Regions from separate parts of the Homo sapiens genome. Here regions 2 and 3 are each linked to region 1. Evidence: promoter capture Hi-C in 16 types of primary human blood cells and fetal thymus (Javierre and others, 2016). All regions are on one chromosome and are shown on one strand. The core of a region is centred on a gene start or on the middle of the fragment in contact, and the rest is flanking DNA. Distances in the headings are between cores, read along the strand shown. Region 1 holds the start of SPAG16 (sperm associated antigen 16). Region 2 overlaps ATIC (5-aminoimidazole-4-carboxamide ribonucleotide formyltransferase/IMP cyclohydrolase). Region 3 overlaps LOC124907975 (a long non-coding RNA gene).

What was found. The method cuts DNA at HindIII sites, captures the fragments that hold promoters and counts their contacts. A CHiCAGO score of 5 or more calls a contact.
Region 2: a contact is called between a fragment that was not itself captured here and the fragment with the promoter of SPAG16 in region 1, in 8 of 17 cell types (naive CD8 T cells, total CD8 T cells, activated CD4 T cells and 5 more). The highest score is 20.5, in naive CD8 T cells.
Region 3: a contact is called between a fragment that was not itself captured here and the fragment with the promoter of SPAG16 in region 1, in 11 of 17 cell types (naive CD8 T cells, total CD8 T cells, total CD4 T cells and 8 more). The highest score is 32.2, in naive CD8 T cells.

Annotation. Positions count from the first base shown.
Region 1 is chr2:213,282,047-213,287,076 of GRCh38, forward strand. It overlaps SPAG16 (sperm associated antigen 16), which reads left to right and starts at 2,418. Exons shown (of 16, transcript NM_024532.5): 1 at 2,418-2,573. The coding sequence starts at 2,438. SPAG16-DT (SPAG16 divergent transcript) reads right to left here and starts at 2,163. Exons shown (of 3, transcript NR_161186.1): 1 at 1,987-2,163. RefSeq lists enhancers at 2,451-2,580, 2,621-2,670, 2,741-2,820. The HindIII fragment of the contact is 3,357 bases long and covers 481-3,837 here.
Region 2 is chr2:215,324,205-215,329,234 of GRCh38, forward strand. ATIC (5-aminoimidazole-4-carboxamide ribonucleotide formyltransferase/IMP cyclohydrolase) reads left to right here. Exons shown (of 16, transcript NM_004044.7): 5 at 1,037-1,125; 6 at 1,783-1,934; 7 at 2,618-2,774. Among named protein-coding and RNA genes, the nearest start is that of ATIC, 15 kb to the left of the region's middle. The HindIII fragment of the contact is 725 bases long and covers 2,035-2,759 here.
Region 3 is chr2:215,302,928-215,307,957 of GRCh38, forward strand. It overlaps LOC124907975 (a long non-coding RNA gene), which reads right to left. Exons shown (of 2, transcript XR_007088075.1): 2 at 732-1,612. Among named protein-coding and RNA genes, the nearest start is that of ATIC, 6.6 kb to the right of the region's middle. The HindIII fragment of the contact is 2,369 bases long and covers 1,212-3,580 here.

The sequences.
Region 1 (5,030 bases), core at 1,168-3,667:
ATCTAATTTAAGCTTGCATATTCATTCAATATTTTAAGCACATTTTATTAACGATTATTTACTGAAAACATTTGATATACCAGACATGGTTATAAGTGCTTTCTACATATTTCGTTTAGTCTTCATACTTTAGTAAGGTAGGTACTAAAATCTCCGGTTTACAGAACAGGAAACTAAGGCTCAGAGAACTTAATTAAGGTCATACAGAAGAGGCAGGAGACAAACATCTGTAGAAGATCACACACTACATCTAAAAAGTCAGAAATAGATGAGCCATTGTAACGAACAAAAACAAATAAAAGTAAACAGTAATCGCTCTGAGAGACCATCCTTCATGTCTTTTGTGTTCCTACATGTCTTGCTGGATATGCCAAAAATGTAAGGCCTTGACCACTCCTTACCCAGGTCATTTGTTAAGGCTGGATTTATAGGAAACAACCTTGAGAGATAAGGTAATGCCTTCTTCTGAAATAAAGAGAAAGCTTTCTGTAAAAGCAGTGGATTCTCCAATGTCAGAATTCTTCTGTATTTTCAGCCTCCTGTAATTGTTCCTTGCATTTAATGAGTACTCAGGAAATGTCTGATGTGAGAAGTCAAGGACAAAGAGTAGGGTAGTAAAAGAATAGGTACCAGGAATGAATTACCCGACTATTATATCTGTGACCCTTGATTATTCTAAAAAATAAAACAATATCAAACACATTTAATAGAAATAACAGCTAACATTTCTTAGTGTCTTCTATGTTCCCAGTAAGTTCTTAATGCTTTTTGTTGCTTTACCCCTTGCAACAGCACTTTGAGGTAGGTAATATTGTTGTCTTTGTTCTACAAATGATGAAACTGGGGCCTAGAGGCATTAAGTAGTAGTTTGCCCAATGTGTCATAGCTAGTAAGTGATGGAAGCAGGCTCTGAAAGCTGTCTCTCTGGCTCTGACACACGTACTCTCAAACACCTCCTTAGGAAGTTACTGCTACCTTTTGGTAATAAATGGGAGCTTTTATAGGATCACTGGCTTCCAGTTTTCACCAAGAAATGTAGAATGAAAAATAATACCATTTGCCCTAGCAATCCCATTACTGGGTATATACCCAAAGAAACAGAAATTGTTCTACCATAAAAACACATGTACATGCGTGTTCATTGATATTCATGATAAAGACATGGATTCAACCTAAATGCCCATCAACGGACTGGATAAAGAAAATGTGGTACACATATACCATGGAATACTATGCAGCCACAGAAGAATGAGATCATGTCCTCTCAGGGACATGAATGCAGCTGGAGGCCATTATCCTTAGCAAACTAATGCAGGAACAGAAAACCAAATACTGCATGTTCTTAGTTGTAAGTGGGAGCTAAATAATGAGAACAAATGGACACAAAGAAGGAACAACAGACACTGGGGCCTACTTGAGGAGGAGAGTGGGAGGAGGGAGAAGATCAGAAAAAATAACTATTGGGTACTACACTTAGTACCTGGGTGACGAAATAAGTTATATACCAAACCCCTGCGACATGAGCTTACCTGCACTTGTACCCCTGAACCTAAAATAAAAGTTAAGGGAAAAAAAAATATTTGCAAAGAAAAGGGCCTTGAATTTGCTTCTGATACATACGCGATATAACCTGAGGAAGATCCTCTCAGCAATAAGACTATACATGATGGGGCAAGTGTCAACTGCATACATTTGTCAGGACCAAATTTGTAGCTCATAATTTTTATGCAACTGTTTTTACCTTGGCGAGAATCAATGCTACAAATACTATTCCAAGTCTTAGTATATGGAACCAAACTCAAAACAGATGTCCAGCTAAATGCATTAAAGATCACAAGAAAGGAATTGACAAAGCTGAACACCATAGTTCTTCATTGCTAAGCATCTGAGGAGCGTCTGGTAGCTCCCCTGGGTCAGTCTTTCTATTATGATTTCTAGAACTTTATTTTTTCATTTTTTAAAAAATTCCAGGTGTTGAGAACTCACCTTTTCTAGTAGTTTTCCCTGGGAACACTTGGGGATCTACAAACATCTGAAATTGGAGGATGCTAATGGGCAAGAATCAAGAGAAAGGTAATTCAGAGACGACAACGAAGTGGGAAAGAAATTACAGGGTCAAAGCGAAAGAAAACCAAGCTGCTTGGGTAGGAAGGTGCAATGCAAGCCAATTGTTTACTGTATCTTGTCCGCTCCCAGAGCTGCGCCCGAGCTCTCGCGTTAACTAGGCAACATCGTTGCCACGGTAACTGGGAGGCGCGGGAGGGCGACAGCTCCCTGGACTCCCGGTAACCCTTACGTGCCCGGGGCTGGTCCGTGGGGCGGGGTGAGAGATGCCGGAATCTCGCGAGAGCTCCCGGGGGCCGTTGGGTAGCGTCTTCGCTGTTGCCCTTAGGGACGGCTGTGGGCCTGCTGGGGGTGGGGGCCCGAAGCGCCAGAGATGGCTGCTCAGCGAGGGATGCCCAGCTCCGCCGTGAGGGTCCTGGAAGAGGCGTTGGGCATGGGTTTGACGGCAGCCGGGGACGCGAGGGACACGGCGGACGCGGTGGCGGCTGAGGGCGCCTACTACCTGGAACGTATCCTTCCCGTGGAGGCGCGGCCCGCTGCGCTGGCGGGTAATGGGTGTTGGGACGAAGGCGAGGGCCTCCCACTGGCGGCGCCTTTTGAGCCTTGGGGCCACTCCGGAGGAGCCTCTGTTGGACTTCAAGGTGCTGTTTTTGCCACCACAGTCTTCCTGAGAGCCACTCACTGAATTTCTCGCCCTTAGTAGCCCAGGGTGTCCTGTACCTGTTAGAAGAGTTGGGAGACCTTCCAAGGCCTCATACTTAGTAACCACTCAGTACATTTTGGATGGAGGGTTGCTTTTTATGTTAAGACAGCACAACAAATTGCTTCAACCCTCCTTTCAAATAATGGGTTTCCTAAATAAGCCCTCAATCTTTCAGAAAGCCGTCCCAATAAATTCAACGGAGGAACGTTAGGAGACTAGGGAAAGACCTCTGCCATTGGACTTTAAGGAGCTGAAGCTCAGAATACCCAACCCACGATCCTGTTCGATGGTCCAGTTAATGCTTAAATGCTTAGTTTTGATAGCATTATCTTCCTGAGTAGTTCCAAGTTTGACTACTTAATAATAAATACTAATAGTATAGTTGCTTTTTTTTCTTGAGCAAATAAATAATGATCTGGTGAGCTACACAGCTCAGAGATATTAGGAATAAAGCAGATGGTGATTAGCGATTTTTATCGGAAGTACCAGAAAAATTGAATAACAATGTGTGGATAATTAGGTCCACTATTTCTTGTGTAAGGCTTTAGAACTTCTTTCCTCTAGTTATATAGATTAATTCCTACTAGGGAGACGGGGAGGGTTCATGAGAAAAAGACATGTAACTCCTTTATTCAGGGAGGTAAGAAAGAGATGATTATCTGTTCAGTTCTTAAAGATACCAAGGAAACTCCAAAATCTGCCAAATCTTATTTGTTTGTCCAACTGTAATCCTCTCCAGGTTTAATTCAAGATTTCAGAAATCCAGCAATGATTCATTTCGTGAGCTTTGACAAGCCGATTAACCTGTCCTGACTCAGGCTCAGTACACATCCACACTACAGAGAGCTTTGAAGAATTTAGCTGAAAGATTAAAGAAAATATGTAGTATTTTATTGGGTGCAAAAACGACTTTTACAGGAATAGAAATTTGAATCGCTTGAAATGAATTTGAAAGAAATATATGGGTGCTTTAGTGTCATAAATGAGGTTTTATACTGTTTTCGTAGATGTAACAGGCAGTCTTTTCCAGTGATATTCCTCTTTAACAACGATTTTCATAATTCTTCCTAAGCTTATCTATATCCAGTGCCCTTGCTACTGAATGGTAACCAGGCATCTTGTAATTTTGTTTGCATTAAAATTATTTCCGTGAACACATAGTTTAATTGTTAACATGAGATTGACACAATGAGGTAACTTTTTGCAAACATCTTTGTGAAATAAATGGTAGGAGTCTAACATAACACAACTTTCAGCAATGAAAATCAGGTTTACTTAATGTGCAGGGAGATCACTGAGTCACACCTGCCAAGATGTAGCAGTTTGCAAACCTGTCTTACAAAGACTTTTTCAAATAATCACACTTATTTGAACTTTAACACATATAAGCAACTGTAACTTTTTAGGATTTTACTAACCGTTGTGTGAATTATCCAACCCATTTGCTTTTCTTCTTTCTTTGGTTGACTGACTGCTATTTTGTATTTTAACCAAATGGTAGTCAGGGGATACACAGTTAAACATTTAACCAGTTTATTTTGCTATATTCCATGCTGAGGGAAGAGGTTTAGTCATTTCAACTCTCAGTTGAAATGAAGTTTGAGGATTACTTGTGAATACCAATTATTCCTGTATCCCTGGGCACTCTTCACATGGTTAATTAAGAGTTGCCTGTGTAATGTTGTTTGACATTGTTTCTTAAGGCAATTATGATAGTTGCCAAAGTGAGACTTCCTTTGGTTTAAAGTCTTTGCTTTCAGGTAATTTAATTGAGCTATCATGGTGGGTAAATAAAAGTTATAATATGCACAGATGAATCAGAAATCTGATGTCCTCTGCTTCGCACATATACTCAATCACTTCTAATCTACTGCATTTGGCCTGGATTTCCCTTATTTATCACTCAACAGATGCTCCTAGTACATTAGACAATGAGCTATCAATATCGAGCAAGACTTTGAAAGAAGTTGACTTGAATTCTTTAGGAAATCTCCCACTTTTCTGCTTTTAAATACTCAATTATGAAGAGTATGAATAGACTAATGTCCAAACCAGAAACAGCCAGGATCCATCTTGTGGGGGACATTAATGAAGGTCCCATGTCCTTTATAATGGTTTACACACTGGGTTCAGGAAAAAGAGTTCTTACCCTGCAACACCCTTTCCCTGTAATCTCCTAGCTGTAACAGTGCCACCTATTTCTCTTCTAAGGAACCCAGAATATCATTGCTTTTATGTTTTAGACTTCAACAAGGTGAGATAC
Region 2 (5,030 bases), core at 1,147-3,646, 2.0 Mb after region 1:
TGTTTCTGAGTTGAGTAGACAAGTATTTTAGTCTTTCACCATCAAGTATGATGTTAGCTGTGGGTTTTTCTTACACTTTGTCATGTTCAGTAAGTTCCCTTCTATTTTTAATTTGCTGAGTGTTTCTATATGAATACCTGTTGAATTGTGTCAGATCCTTTTTGTACATCTATTGAGATGATCAGGTGGTTTTTGCATTTTTCTGGATTCAGTTTGTTAGTGTTTTGTTGAGAGTTTTTGTGTGAAGATACCTAAGAGATACTGGTCTCTAGTTTTCTTGTGACATTTGTCTGGTTTTAGTAGGAGGGCAGTAGACTTAATAAAGATGAGCTGCAAAATGTTTCCCCTCCAATTCTGTTCTTCTGTTTTTGTTTTTGTTTTTTTTAATTAGTTTTCAGCAGTTAGGCTTGTTTGGAGCCTGCCCGTAGAGCTCCTCGCACTACAGGCCTAGGAGTGGAACTGTACTTCACTGATTGTTAATTTTAGATTACTTCTGTATTTTAAATTATTCTTTTGGCATTCCTGTTACCATCATTTTTATGACCTCTCTGAAGGCAAAACAAATGTTTCACCCTTAGAATGCTCTGATATTTTTCATCATTGTGCCAATCCACTGGAAAAAGAATCTAAATTCTAATGTTCTGGATAATAGTGATCACATTCCAAAATGAGAATGTTATCTGTAATCTTGTACTTTATACTTCTATTAAAATGTTCTATAAATTTTTCATGGCTTGGTGGTTCTGGGTAGCTAAGGTTATGCAAGCAGCAGCGTTGCAGTGTGACGTGGAGGGAGTACTGTGTATTCAGATCCGGGGAGCACCTGCTGACTAAATTACCTCTGCTCGACCCCAGCAGGACACCCTGACTTTTTAACACACTCGTTAGAATTCTAAAATGTCAGGCTCACAGTTTATATATTAGTTCTCTATGGCTTTTGTTTACGTTAATAGTACTGACTTGTTTTTTTCCTAGATAGCTGTAAACCACATGAGTGGACTTTTTAATGACAGCCAGATTCGTCTTTGTTTTATAGAGTTGTTGCCTGCAATCTCTATCCCTTTGTAAAGACAGTGGCTTCTCCAGGTGTAACTGTTGAGGAGGCTGTGGAGCAAATTGACATTGGTAAGTCAGAAAAACCATTTTAGAAGACTGAGAGGAGAGGATTATTTAAATTTTAGTGAGATTTCATTTTGAATTTTATTACTGAGGAAATAGAAAGAAAATAGCTACTTCTGGATTGTGTTTTGGGATTACTATAATTCATTTATATTTTCTTTTTTTCATTTATATTTTCTAAGCTTTTTTTGTATGCAGAGATGCATCTGGGTTATTTTCCTGATTTATTTATTTATTTATTTTATTTTTATTTTTTTGAGATGAAGTCTTGCTGTGTCACCCAGGCTGGAGTACAGTGGCACAGTTTTGGCTGACTGCAACCTCTGCCTCCTGGGCTCAAGTGATTCTCTTGCCTCAGCCTCCTGAGTAGCTGGGATTACAGGTGCACACCACCACGCCTGGCTAATTTTTTTTGTATTTTTTATAGAGATGGAATTTCGCCATGTTGGCCAGAGTGGTCTCGAACTCCTGACCTCAGGTGATCCACCTGCCTCAGCCTCCCAAAGTGCTGGGATTCCAGGCATGAGCCACTGCGCCCAGCTTATTTTCCTGATTTTTAAGTCAGGAATTAAAATGGAAGTACATGCACAATGACTTTATTTAAAAGCGGTTCATAAGCTGATAGGGACATACAAAAATCAATAAGTCTTTTGTTCTTCAAAGGTGGAGTAACCTTACTGAGAGCTGCAGCCAAAAACCACGCTCGAGTGACAGTGGTGTGTGAACCAGAGGACTATGTGGTGGTGTCCACGGAGATGCAGAGCTCCGAGAGTAAGGACACCTCCTTGGAGACTAGACGCCAGTTAGCCTTGAAGGTGGGATGCACTTTCATGATATTGTAAGTTACATCCATGGAGTGCAGTGTTTGCCAGACCAAGCAGTATTCAGTTCTTGGTAGATTGCATTACCTACCAAAGCTTTGCTTGGAGCTGCTATCCTTTTGTTAAAAATGGAGAAACCAGCTATTACAGAGGTGTTCTGTCAAAAAGATTGAAAGAGAGCTGGGCGCGGTGGCTCACGCCTGTAATCCTAGCACTTTGGGAGGCCGAGGCGGGCGGATCACCTGAGGTCAGGAGTTTGAGACCAGCCTGGCCAATGTGGTGAAACCCTGTCTCTACTGAAAATACAAAAATTAGCCGAGTGTGGTGTGGTGTGGTACGCCTGTAATCCCAGCTACTCGGGAGACTGAGGCAGGAGAATCGCTTGAACCCAGGAGGTGGAAGTTGCAGTAAGCTGACATCACACCACTGCACTCTAGCCTGGGCAGCAGAGTGAGACTTTGTCTCAAAAAAAAAAAAAAAGATTGAAAAAGAATTGGAAAGGGGTAATTTGTTGGGCCATTCAGTGCTTTGCTGTCATTCATGGTGTCATCGTGTTGTGCAGCCACCACATAGCACTGAATAGTGAGGAGATGTTGTTTGCTGTGGACGTAGAAAACCATCTTGTCCCCACTTTGGAAAGTGCTGCTCGTGTCTCACAAAACTTACGCTTTTTGTAGGCATTCACTCATACGGCACAATATGATGAAGCAATTTCAGATTATTTCAGGAAACAGTACAGCAAAGGCGTATCTCAGATGCCCTTGAGATATGGAATGAACCCACATCAGACCCCTGCCCAGCTGTACACACTGCAGCCCAAGCTTCCCATCACAGGTAAAGCCCGAGCGTTCTGTGGCATGGTTTGCTGTGCCTGGAGAGTGTGTGTTTCTCTGTATTGCATCTGATGTGGTTCACATTCAGAAGATGATACATTCCGTAATGCCTCCTGTAGCCATCTGATAACCATCTGGTTTGAGACGCCATTTGGACTGAAGAGCACAGAAGTTGAGTAGTCTGGAGTTCTGAAAAGATGTCATGGGGGAGATGGAGATTGGAATGTCTCTGCCACGTAGATCTTTTTGAAGACATGAGACAGGATGGGATGGCCTGGATTTTATAGAGAAGAGGGTCAAGAAAGCCTTGGGGTAAAGGCTTGGTAGGTGTACTGTGGAGGAACCAGCAGAAGAAAAGTTGTGAAATTCCAACCTTTTAGAATGCATTTGAGAACAGAAAAGGGACTGTTTGTTTTGCACATATTGTAAGAAGCCGTTGCCTTGGAATATTGGATCTAGAAGCCCAATTGAAGTAGGCCAAAGCAGAAATGTGATGTTAAGAACTAACAACGATAAAGAGGTTTCTTGGAACAAGAAAGTAGGACTTTCTCTGGGTTTGTAGAGTTTAGAGAGGGTTTTTAAATGTGTGTCCTGTTCTGTTCCAAAGGTAGGCTGTGAGAGCCTGTCCTGCTCTGGTACAAGGGAGAGTAGGGGCAGGGACAGAGGTGAGAGTCCCAGGCATGGAGGCCTTGGAATCCCAAGCACTACCGGTGCAGCTGGCCTTGGCTGAGAGCAAGGGCAGCCTCCTTCCTGCCTGGGGCGGTCAGCATTTGGTGAGGGGGTGCAGCCTGGGCTTCCTTTCCCTGTCATCAGCTGAGAGAGCGATGGGGGAGGGGAGCAGCGTGCCAGGTGGGAGGAGAATCTGAAAGTTTCTTCACGTTTGCCGCGTTCTATTGTTCTGCCTCAGATAGATTTTTTTTTTTTTTTTTTAAATTAAGACAACGGAGTCTCGCTCTGTCACCCAGGCTGGAGTGCAGTGGCGCAATCTCTGGTTCAAGCGATTCTCCTGCCTCAGCCTCCTGAGTAGCTGGGATTACAGGTGCGCACCACAATGCCTGGCTAGTTTTTCTGTTTTTAGTAGAGATGGGGTTTCACCATGTTGGCCAGGCTGGTCTCAAACTCCTGACCTCAAGTTATCTGCCTATCTCAGCCTCCCAGAGTGCTGGGATTACAGGCGTGAGCCACCACACCTGGCCTCAGATCTCAGATACACTTTGACACTAACACTTCCCAAATCCCCACAGACACCCTGTGAAGTCCTGTAGGCTGAAGTAATCTAAGTAATTTGTTTTCTCTCGGCCTTTCTGGGCTTCACAGCACAGTAATCTTTTAAAAATGGAAATCGGATGATGTCAGACCCTACTTAAAGCCATTCCTTGGCTTTTCTTAAGCACTTTGCCCTGCCCCACAAACCCTGTGCTGCCTGCCTGCCTCCTATCTGCCCCCTCAGCAGCTCTCCCTGCGCCTGCTGCTAGCCCCTCCGCCCTGTGCCTCCAAGTGGGCCCAGCTCTTTCCACTCCAGCGCCTCTGGCTCCTTGTCCCCTTCACCCAGAATTCTTCCCTCTGCCCTTCACCGTCCTGGTTTCTTGTTATTCAGGCCTCACCTCCTCAGAGAAGCCTTCCTTGACCGCTTAGACCAAAGTAGCAGCCCATCATGCTTTCATCCCATCACCCTGTTTTGCTGCATGTGTTTCTATTCAATCTGTTCAAATTGTCTTCCCCCATTAGGATGGCAGCTTCCTTTTTTTTTTTTTTTTGAGATAGAGTTTCACTCTTTTCGCCCAGGCTGGAGTGCAGTGGTGCGATCTTGGCTCGCTGCAAACTCCACCTCCCGGGTTGAAGTGATTCTCCTGCCTCGGCCTCTCAAGTAGCTGGGACTACAGGCGCCTGCCACCACACCTGGCTAATTTTGTATTTTTAGTAGAGATAGGGTTTCACCACGTTGGCCAGGCTGGTTTTGAACTCCTGACCTCAGGTGATCTGCCTGCCTCGGCCTCCCAAAGTGCTGGGATTACAGGCATGAGCCACAGCGCCCAGCCAGGATGTCAGCTTTTGAGAGCAGAAGCTGCATCTGTTTTTGTTTGTCGCTGAATCCCCAGGGCTTAGAAGACTGCTTGGCACATTCCCTAAATGTTTACTGAATGAATAATTAGCAACCTGACATTTTGCACAAATTTTTCCTTGTAGGACTTCTTGAAACTGATTTGTCTGCTGTTATATCTGACCTATTTCCTGCTTATAGTTTATATTCTCCATT
Region 3 (5,030 bases), core at 1,146-3,645, 2.0 Mb after region 1:
GGCCAACATAGCGAAACCCATCTCTACTAAAAATACAAAAATCAGCCAGCCATGGTGGCCTGCACCCACAATCCCAGCTACTTGGGAGGCTGAGGCACAAGAATCACTTGAACCCAGGAGACTGAGGTTGCAGTGAGCAGAGATTGTGTCACTGCACTCCAGTCTGGGCAACAGAGCAAGTCTCTGTCTCAAAAACAACAACAAACAAACAAAAAACAACCTTGTTACAACATCAGGACATTGGCACATTATCTGTTTAACATTAAAAAAAGAAAAAAAGGGGCCGGGTGCAGTGGCTCACACCTGTAATCCCAGCACTTTGGGAGGCCGAGTTGGGTGGATCACGAGGTCAGGAGATCGAGACCATCCTGGCTAACATGGTGAAACCCTGTCTCTACTGAAAATACAAAAAATTAGCCTGGCGTGGTGGTGGGTGCCTGTAGTCCCAGCTACTCGGGAGGCTGAGGCAGGAGAATGGCATGAACCCAGGAGGCAGAGCTTGCAGTGAGCCGAGATCATGCTATTGCACTCCAGCCTGGGTGACAGAGCGAGACTCCGTCTCAAAAAAAAAAAGGAAGAAAGGAAACAGACAAATGAGTGAAATTCAATGCTACAGGTGTTACAATTAAATAAGCTCCTGCATCAAAAAAGGGGAAACAATCAATCCACCACATGGAGGATACAGCAATCAAGAAAGCCTTTAGAGACAGAGGTAACATAAGATCTATTTGTTCTTGGATTCATTCTGACATTTTATTCGTAGAAACATTGGTAGTAGGAGTCCAGGTGCTGAGAAAGCTGTAACAACTATTAATGCTGATGGTGGCTATTCAGCCAAGTGTGAGATATGATAGAGACTGGAGTTAAGTGGTTGACATAAGTAATCTAAAATAAGAGGCAGAGGCCAGGTGCTGTGGCTCACACCTATAATCCCAGCACTTTGGGAGGCTGAGGTGGCTGGATCACTTGAGTCCAGGAGTTCGAGACCAGCCTGGCCAACATGGATAAACTCTGTCTCTATTAAAAATACAAAAATTAGCTGGGTGTGATGGTACACGTCTGTACTCCCCGCTTTTTGGGAGGCTGAGGTGGGAGAATCGCTTGAACCCAGTAGGTGAAGGTTGCAGTGAGCTGAGGTCGCACCACTGCATCCAGCCTGGGCAAAAGAGTGAAACTTTGTCTAAAAAAAGAAAAAATTATTTCCTTGAAGAAGCTTTTCCCTCCCCACCCACAGTCCCTAAGTAGATCCCTCTATAATAAGACTTGCTTCTGTCTTGCATTATCAGATTTCCCTCTTCACTACTGAATCGATCAGTGTTATGGACAAACAAATGTGATTATTCTTTCAGATTAAGAAAAAACAAGGCTGAGTGTGGTGGCTCACACCTGTTATCCAAACATTTTGGGAGGCTGAAAGCAGGAGGCTCACTTAAGCCCAGAGTAACATAGTGACACCTAGTCTTTACAAAAAATTAGCCAGATGTGATGGCGTGCATCTGTAGTTCCAACTACTTGCTAGGCTGAGGAAGGAGGATCTTGAGTCCAGGAGGTCGAGGCTGCAGTGAACTGTGATGGTACCACTGCACTCCAGCCTGGGCAACAGAGTGAGACCCTATATCAAAAAAAACAAAAACAAAATGTCAATAAGCTCCCTGGACCCACTTGTACCACCAGCTACCACCCTATTCCTCTACTCTCCTTTTAGAGTAGTGGTTCTCATCTGGGGGCAATTTTTCCCACAGGAGACATTTGGCAATGTCTGGAGACACTTCTGGTTGTCACAACTGGAGTAGGGGTGCTACTGGTATCTAGTGGTAGAAGGCTTGGATACTACTAAACATCCTGAAATGCTCACGACACACCCCCCATTCCCCCCGCCACACACACACAATAAAGCATTATCCGCTCCAAAATGTCTATAGTTTTGAGGTTGACAAACCCTGTTTAAGAGCAAAACTCCTTAAAAGTGTCATCTTTATTCCACATCTCCAATTCCTTCCCTCTTTGTGTCTCATTTTTTTTTTTTTGAGATAGAGTCTTGCTTTGTTGCCCAGGCTGGAGTGCAATGGATCACTGCAACCTCAGTCTTCCAGATGCAAGTGATTCTCGTGCCTCAGTCTCCCAAGTAACTGGGATTACAGGTGCGCCCCACCACACCCAGGTAATTTTTGTATTTTTAGTAGGGACGGGTTTCACCATGTTGGCTAGGCTGGTCTCAAGCTCCTGACATCAATGATCCGCCCACCTCAGCCTCTCAAAGTGCTGGGATTACAGGTGTGAGCCACCATGCCCAGCCCCCTCATTCTCTCTTGAACCTACTCCAGCCAGACCCTCATCTCTACCACTTCCCCAAATGTGTCCTTGTCAGGATAATCCAACATCTAATGGTTACTCTCAGTCCTCATCAGACTTAACCTGCTGGCAGTATTTGACACACAGTATCATAGGTATCCAGTGTCCTACACTTAACCCTGTTCTTCCCCCCAGGGCTACTACATTTGTATCCTTCCCAATTTCAGCTGATGTCAACTTTATTCTTCCAGCTGTACAAGCGATCATCAATGCTCCTTCTCTTCCTCTCAAACTTGGCATCCAATTTGTCAACAAATCTTATTGGCTCTTCCTTCAAAATATATCTGGGATTTAATTACCTCCTCCAATGTCCACTGCTGCCACTCTGGGCCGTGCCACCCTCATCTTTCACCTAGTGTCAAGGTCCTGGATCATTGTGAGAGCTTTCGTAGGGATTCCCCTGTTCCACCTTTGCTCTCATACAACCAGAGTGAGTGTGTGAAAGAGGTAAATTAGATGTCACTCCTTCCCAAAACTCTCCAAGGGCTTCCTTTCTCATTCAGAATAAAAGCCGAAGTCTTTACGATGTGCCCACACGGCCTTATCCAACCCGATTGCTGACATTGTGTCTTCCTTCTCCTAGTGAAGTTCCCTCTGTTGCTACCATACCACCCTTCCTGACATTCCTTAGACACTACAGCCACACTCCCTATGCACGGCCTTTGCACTTGTTCCCACTGCCTGGAACTTTCTCCTTCAAATACCCTGTGGCTTGTTATCCCCCACCCAGCCCTCCAGTCCTCACTCAAATGTACCTTGTCAGTAAGAAATTCTCTGCCAGGCCTTCCTAAAGGTGCAGCTACCTCTGCCCTGTCCCTCTTCTCTGCTTTATTTTATCCAAAAGGATAAAGTGTCTCTTCACCTGTGGTCCACAGTGGCTCATGCCTGTAATACCAGTACTTTTGGAGGCCGAGATGGGTAGATCGCTTGAGGTCAGGAATTCAAGACCAGCCTGGCCAACATGGTGAAACCCTGTCTCTACTAAAAATACAAAAATTAGCCGGGCGTGGTGGCATGCACCTGTAATCCCAGCTACTCGGCAGGAGAATTGCTTGAACCCAGGAGGCAGAGGTTGCAGTGAGCCCAGATCGCGTCACTGCACTCCAGCCTAGGTGACAGAGCAAGACTCAGTCTCAAAAAACCAAAAAACATTAAATGCCTTCCTGAATGAATTTTCTTTCTTTAGCTTTTTTTGTCGCTCGGGTTATCTACTAGACCTAATTAAGCAAGCTTATCTTCTTCCAGGCTTCAACTACTACTTGAATTTCATTAATTTTCCACGTTTATTTATCTTTAACCTCACTTTTATTCCTGAATTTCATTTGTATTTCCAACAATTTGCTGTATGATTTTAACTGTGTGCACCAATTACCTAGACTTTAAAATCAATATTTAGAAACTCAAACTTATTTACCCAACCACTCACACTGACCTTAAATTAAAATAAACACATGCCACAACTGTTCTTTCTCTTACATATATTTTTATATTTTGGGTGTTGCCTCACCAGCTACTCATATGACGAAGCTAGAAATGATGGAATCATCCCTAGTTTTTTGTGTCTAATATTTCCTATATGTCACTGATCCCTGCATGCTGCTAATTTTACCTATTTTGAATCGTCTCACATAGATAACCTCTTTTCCACCTTCTTATGTGTGAGTGGATGCAAAACCTTCCTAACCAGTTTCTCTACTTCCTACTATTCCAATTCATTCTTTGTATTATTGTCAGCTTTATATCTCCAAACATCTCCAGGACTTTCAAGAAAAATGTTTGAATTTCATACTAGGTCATAAATTAGCTTAATGTTCTGAACTACAGTAGAGAGGAATTTTATACCAAGCTCCTGGGAATCCCTTTATATGATAAACTACATCCACTTGAGTGGACAAACCCTTGGAGCAAGTCAGCCCAAGATGATGCAGCTTTATTAATCGTTAGAGTCCAATAGGAGATCCAAGACTTGGAAGGGAGATGGAGGTTTTTCAAAGAAAGTGATGAGCTTGGCCAGGCGCGGTGACTCACACCTGTAATCCCAGCACTTTGGGAGGCCGAAATGTGCGAATCACAAGGTCAGGAGATCAAGACCATCCTGGCTAACATGGTGAAACCCTGTCTCTACTAAAAATACAAAAAAAATTAGCCGGATGTGGTGGCGGGTGCCTGTAGTCCCAGCTACTTGGGAGGCTGAGGCAGGAGAATGGCGTGAACCCAGGAGGCGGAGCTTGCAGTGAGCCAAGATTGCTTCACTGCACTCCAGCCTGGGTGACAGAGTGAGAGCGAGACTCCGTCTCAAAAAAAAAAAAAAAAAAAGTGATGAATTTACACAAGAAACAAACAACATAGGGGCAAAATCAGATTATAACACCTTCAAAGAACTGAAACAATTCATGTACATTAAATATTTTAAGGTATATTACTATGATTTTAGGGTCTTCAAGCTTCTCTTTGGAGGTATGTGAAGTAAGAAGAAATGAAAATGTAATCATTATAGTGTATACACGCCCTTTCTGTCTTTCTGAAACAATAATCCTGCGATAAACCATTGGTAAAAGATGCATTCTCATCTTTATGAGAACATCTCCCTTTTCTAAGACACTAGCTTGCTGGTGACTAGATCTTTGAAGACATACCTTGGTGCCCAGAAAGATACCTGATTAGCCAGACCAAGGGAA